Linked DNA regions of Homo sapiens: region 2 is linked to region 1. Evidence: promoter capture Hi-C in 16 types of primary human blood cells and fetal thymus (Javierre and others, 2016). All regions are on one chromosome and are shown on one strand. Each heading gives the region's core, a stretch centred on a gene start or on the middle of the fragment in contact. The rest is flanking DNA. Distances are from core to core; before and after follow the strand shown. Region 1 holds the start of XPO4 (exportin 4). Region 2 overlaps CRYL1 (crystallin lambda 1).

The links. Contacts are between HindIII fragments. The CHiCAGO score rates a contact against its expected background, and 5 or more counts as called.
Region 2: a contact is called between a fragment that was not itself captured here and the fragment with the promoter of XPO4 in region 1, in 4 of 17 cell types (erythroblasts, megakaryocytes, endothelial precursors and 1 more). The highest score is 10.5, in erythroblasts.

The regions. Positions count from the first base shown.
Region 1 is chr13:20,901,484-20,904,636 of GRCh38, forward strand. XPO4 (exportin 4) reads right to left here and starts at 1,263. Exons shown (of 23, transcript NM_022459.5): 1 at 1,187-1,263. The coding sequence starts at 1,255. RefSeq lists an enhancer at 1,026-1,075 and a silencer at 1,286-1,665. The HindIII fragment of the contact is 36,571 bases long and covers 1-3,153 here.
Region 2 is chr13:20,486,638-20,489,806 of GRCh38, forward strand. It overlaps CRYL1 (crystallin lambda 1), which reads right to left. Exons shown (of 8, transcript NM_015974.3): 3 at 2,733-2,859. Among named protein-coding and RNA genes, the nearest start is that of CRYL1, 38 kb to the right of the region's middle. The HindIII fragment of the contact is 839 bases long and covers 1,501-2,339 here.

The DNA of each region.
Region 1 (3,153 bases), core at 13-2,512:
GAATACTAGCTAGTTACTTCTGCTTAATTTGCAAAAGTGTGAAAACCTTCACTAGTCTGTTTTGTGACAAAACGTACATTAAGTTAATATTCATAATGAAGCAAGTAAATCCTGCTTTTATTAGACTTCTCGATTTCTAAAGAAACAAAAATATCTGGTGTAAAATATTAGAACTACAAACTACGCTAGAATTAGTTCGAATATTCTCAAATGTGATGCTCAAACACCCTAACACCAAACCAAAAGGAAAAAAGTCCAAAAAGGTAACAAAGCTGGCTGTATCCAATTCTTAGAAAGTCTGAATCAATCCAGGTATCAAATGAACCTCTAACTTCCCAAAACATCTACAAACACCGAAGTCATAATTTGCAAAAACAAAGCTGAGCCAGCAAATAGAAACACTGTTTACTAACTGAACGTAGTTTATCCTTACTTCTCCTCCTTGCATGTAATACTTTTATCCTTTGACTCGGCCTTCTCAAATTCCCTTAGTAAACAATCTCATCAAACTGCTTATTGTAGTGTAAGCATGAAGTCAAAGAGTAGCATAGACTCAGTTCTCCAAATCGCGGGAGCTTTAAGGAGCTTAGCACTAGACCAAGTTTTGCCCCAATGACCTTGGTCTCAACGATTCCCCTCCCTCCCTCCAGCCGGCCCGGCCCTTCCACGTGCTGCCGGCTGCAATTACTCCAGAGGTGGCTGCATGTCAGGGAAGCGCTAGAGGATGCGAATGCACAGGAAACAAGGGTTGCTAACAGCACCCAGGCTGTGCCATCCAATCCCTCCCGACACCAACTCCCCAAGAGCGCTCACACAGCCCTACAAATTTCCCCTACCGAAGCCCTGCGGGGATAACCCCAACTCCTTCCCGGCGCCTTGCTCTGCGACCCAGTCTGTGGGGCAGGGTGTAAGGTGAAGAAATTCTCTTTGCTACACCACTATATTCCCACGCCCGACTGGGGTGCTGGGCAGCCAGGGGAAGGGGACAGCTCCTGGAAGGAGGGGACGACGGCAGGAGGAAAGTAGGCTGAAGAATCCTGCGCCACGCCACCGCCACCTCCTCCTCCACTTCCAGGCTCCCTGCAGGCCCTTGCCAGTCGCCAGCCCAGCGAGCAGCAAGGCCTGGAGTGGCAGGGCCGACCGGGGGCCCGCGAATCCCGGGGTCTGAGGGGCGCGGCGTCCTCACCATCAGAACTTTAGCCGCGTTCTCCAGCTGAGCGATCACTTCTGGGGGCCCCAGCGCCGCCGCCATCATGGTCTCTCTTCAATGACGCGCCATGCGCTGCATTCTGGGAGCGGGCGCCGCGGCCGGCCAATCGCCGCCGCGACCCCGGAGCCTCACGCGCTCCCAGGGCCGTCGCAGCCGCTGTCGACACCGGCGTCGCGGCCTCGGCGGGTCTGGCCGGGCTGCCGGGTTCCGGGTGGCTGGGAGGGGACTAGTGTGAGCCCGGCCGCCGCGCTGGGGCGGGGGCGGCCGCAGCCGGCACCGGGCGAGGCCGAGGCGGTCTGCCCAGACTGCTGCAGCCGCGCGCCCCGCTAAGCTCCCAGCCCCGCGCATGCGTGGTGTCCGGCGCCCCGGCCTCGCGGTGCCCCCGGCCCTCTCCCCACTACCCTAGTACAGCCCGCCCGGGGACCCGCAGATCCACGACGCCAGTTCGCTCCCTCCGTTCTCAGCCCTGCACACCGCCTCCCCTGGCTCCTCCTTGCCCTTCCACGCTCCAGCGCCGTGCAGGATTTCCTAAACTTGGAATCGCTCTTCCCGCTTTCCCCTCCTCAGAGCGCACCTCCTTTCAAAGTATCTCTGTCTCCTGCTTCTCTGTTCCTTCTTGCCATGGGAGAACATTCCAGGATAGAACGCTTCGTTTTCTTTCTTTCTTTTTTTTTTTTTTTGGAGACAGGGTCTCACTCTATCGCCCAGGATGGAGTGCAATGGCCCTATTTCGGCTCACTGCAACCTCCGTCTCCCGGGTTCAAGCGATTCCCCTGCCTCAGCCTCCTGAGTATCTGGGATTACAGGCGCCCGCCACCACGCCCGGCTAATTTTTGTACTTTTAGTAGAGACGAAGTTTCACCATGTTGGCCAGGCTGGTCTCGAACTCCTGACCTCAGGTGATCCGCCCGCCTCGGTCTCCCAAAGTTCTGGGATTACAGGCGTGAGCCACCGCCCCCGGCCGAACGCTTCGTTTTCATAATGGAGGGCTTTGGCCTTCTGCAGGACAATCATCCAAATGTATCTGGGCAGCGGGTCGCTAGGAGACCCTAGGAGGAAAACCCGTCTTTGGCTCTTGCCGTTTTCACTCTTTAAGGGCTGGCTCACATAGGAGAGGGAGAAAGCAGGGACAGGAAAGCCTGACCTTGACTACCTGGCTTCTCAAATGCAGTAAGATGAGCTTTGTCGGCCAGGCGCTGTGGCTCATGCCTGTAATCCCAGCACTTTGGGAGGCCAAGGCAGGCCTCATTTTAGCTCAGGAGTTCGAGACCAGCCTGGGCAACATCGTGAGACCCTGTCTCTACCAAAAAAAAAAAAAAAAAAAGCCCGGTGTGGTGTCTTGCGCCTGTGGTCCGAGCTTCTCGGGAGGCTGAAGCGGAAGGATTGCCCAGGAGGTCGAGAGTGCAGTGGGGCGAGATCACACCACGGCACTCCAGCCTGGGTGAGAGGCTGATCCTGTCTCAGGAAAAAAAAAAAAAAGGACAAAAATCAGCATTGTCGTGTTTGTGGAATCCGTGTTGAAAGGCATATTAGAGTATCAAGTAATTAACCTTCCCTCCGGTGCTCCAGTTGCCTCTAGGACATTCCACGCAAGTGGTCCTGACAGCTGTTTCAGTATTCAAACCAGTGCTGTTAGGTTGTTCGGATCAGGGGTTTGTTTCGTTTTGAGCTGACATCTACGGTCTACATTCCTATAACTTCTTTTTGGTGCTTATTCAGCCTTCTGAAACAACACAGACAGTCAAATTCGTTTCAGTATTTTTAAGTTTATTTTTTGTTGAAATCTTCCTGTTTCTTATTCCTAGTTATAAGAAAGCCATACTGTTGAGGTTTTATGTCACTGCAACAGAATGTCTGTGTGTGTGTGTGTGTGTGTGTGTGTGTGTGTGTGTGTGTGTGTGTGTGTTATGGAGTCTCTCTCTGTCACCCAGGCTGGAGTGCCA
Region 2 (3,169 bases), core at 670-3,169, 410 kb before region 1:
CATCATCTTTCTCTAGTTTCCTCTCCTCATCCGGCTTGGCTCTGTGTTCTACATAATAGATATGGCTCAACATGTCATGCCTTGTAAATACACTCATTTAATCTATAAAATAAAGATAGACTGTAGTTAAAGAGCAGTTTTCACTAGTGCCAACCATGTACAGAACGCCATATACTGCCCCATGTCATTCTTTATTACCAAAATTGTTATAAATGGCCACATTATAAAATAATTACCATTTCCTGAGCATTTTCTGTGTGCCAAGTACTATGTAAGTGCTTTACATGCCTTCTAAATTCACATATTCCCCCCAAATTACTCTTTAACAGAAAAACTTGCCTTATTACCCAAGTCTATTATAATGTTCTCATATTATGGAGGGTTCACCACTTTATAAAAAACAATATACTCTTTGAGGGAGACACATTAACCAGAACTAATTCAGTTAGGGTAGTTTTGGATGTTTATAGAAATCATATGATAAACTATCAAAAAAATGGGATGGGGAGACAAAGAAATTTAACATGGATAGATGAATTATTCCTAGGGGATGACTTTACAATTGTTACTGCTAGGAAATTTATAAAGTAGCTATAGAAAGATTCTTTAAAAGAAAAAAAAAAGCACAGCAAGTTGCCATGCTATGGAATCACAAGTGTATTATTACAAAAGGAAAAAACATCTAAATGTTTGAGAATTAGTCTTTGAGGCTGGGGATAAAATTTGCAGTGCCAGCATTGTAGATGGGTTCAAAAAGCTCTGCATAGCAAACATCTCCAAGAGGCAAAGGTAACATGGTCTGGGAACTCTGTTCAGAGAGACTCAAAAAGTGATTGTAATGAAGACAAACATGCTGAAGTTGGAGATATCAGCCCAGAGTTTGAACAAAAGCATTCTGTGAAATGTGAAAGTAGAAATATTATAATAATAGATCACTTATTAATATTTCAATCACATTATATAACTAAATACTTTCCTTAAAAACTAAACTCACGGCTGGGAACAGTGGTTTATGCCTATAATCCAAGCTACTTGGGAGGCTGAGGCTCAAGAATCGCTTGAACCCAGGAGGCGGAGGTTGCAATGAGCCAAGATCACACTACTGAACTCCAGCCTGGGTGACAGAGCGAGACTCTATCTCAAAAAAAAACAAAAAACAAAAAGCAAAAAAAACTTAACTCATGCAGTTTACCGTGGCTCACGCCTGTAATCCCAGCACTTCGAGAGGCCAAGGCCAGCGGATCACTTGAGGTCAGGAGTTTGAGACCAGCCTGGCTAACATGGTGAAACCCTGTCTCTACTAAAACTGCAAAAATTAGCTGGGTGTGGTGGTGCACACTTGTAATCCCAGCCACTCCACAGGCTGAGACAGGAGAATCGCTTGAATCCAGGAAGTGGAGGCTGCAATGAGCCGAGATCACACCACTGCACTCCAGCCTGGGCCAACAGAGTGACTCTGTCTCAAAAAAATAAAAAATAAAACTAAATTCATGTGAAAGAAGCTTCTCTGCCAAGACCAGGCCTGGAGAGCATCTGTGCTCTTCAGAAGCAACTCTGCCAAGACCAGGCCTGGAGAACATCTGTGCTCTTCAGAAGCAACTCCTCTTATAGCACCTGCAACTACGGGTAGAAACAGGTGGCACTGGGAACTCATTAGGAGCCCTCAGGTCTCTTTAAAGTCCCTTCAACTTCATACAAACTTCACCATATCAAGAGATAGAGGATAATATATTAGAAAGAGATAAGAAGTTGAAAAACAGTCCTCTCCTTGTGTTCTGTTGTGACACACATTTGTTTAATGAATTTTTAGCAAATTGAGAATTTAACAATTTTAAGAAATTTTAGAGTCATAGAGACCTAAAATCTCCATCTTCTGTATTTGACCCGAATCTTAGAGCAGGAAATGACCAGAGAACACACACAGCCTTTTCGGTTTGCTTCCAAATTCTCAGCTAGAATATCAACAGAGTAACGACGTGAAATGTGCAAATCTCAGAACACAAAATATCAAGGAAAGATACTGGGAATAATGACTCTTTTAGCTTTAGGTAAATTTGCATAAACCTTATAGCAGTAAGTGCAGCCTTTGAAAAGACAAGGGTATGCCTCAGGATTCTTCAACAGGGCAGGGCCTGTGCGTGGGCACAGGAGCTCCAGGAGCGGGATGCCTGGAAAGAGGGCCAAGCCACAGGGGCTGCTCCCAGCTCCACCTGCAGGGACCACTCACCTCTCCAGGCTCATCCCGCTGTGCAAACAACCCTCATGAGGATTTCTCTTTTTTAAAGTAAAGTTGTTGGAAAGGCTACATGCAAGTGAAAGGTTTTCTTTTTGATGATGTAAGCTTTTGCTCAATTACATATGAGAACAATAATATAATCTGTCATTTGATAAGATGATAAAACAAAATAAAATAGTATTAGCAGTCCAGAAAACCTATTTTTGCTAAAACTGTTAATGCCTCTAAAATACAACATTGTCACCAGAATCCCTAGTGGCCTCACGGATAAGGCATTGGTCTCTTGAAACAGAACATTGTCACGCTAGTTTGATGAGAACCCAGGATAGAGGGTGTTTTGGGGATCACATTTCCTATCACATAAAACAAAATCCTGCCCTTGAAGATGCAAAATGCCCACACCTGCCACTGCTCTGTATCCTGCCCTGTTCCTCCGGAGAGGCTGGGAGACAATGTCTCAGGCCCCACAGATGCGGCGCCAGTGTCCTTCACTCACCTGAATGTGCATGGCACCCTCTACTGCTTCTTGGATATTGGGACAACCACTGATGAGTGACAGCTGCTCTTCCACACTCAGGGAGCCTTTCAGAGAACCTGCCTGCTCCAGCAACTTCATCTCCTTTCTGGAAAGGCAGAGAGAAGGATCACTGTGAGTATTCAACACCACATTTAAAAACAGATAAAGCCCAACATCAGGAATCATCAGGGAAATGCCAAGCAGAACCACAGTGAGATACCACCTCACACCCATTAGGGGCTACCAAAAATAGAAACTAGCAATTGTTGGCAAGGATGTGGAGAAACTGGAACCATTGTGCACTGCTGGTGAGACTGTAAAATGGTGCAACCGCTATGGAAAACAGATATGGCAGTTCCCAAAAACAGAATTACAGTATGATCCAGCAATTCAACTTCTGGGTATAAACCCAAAAT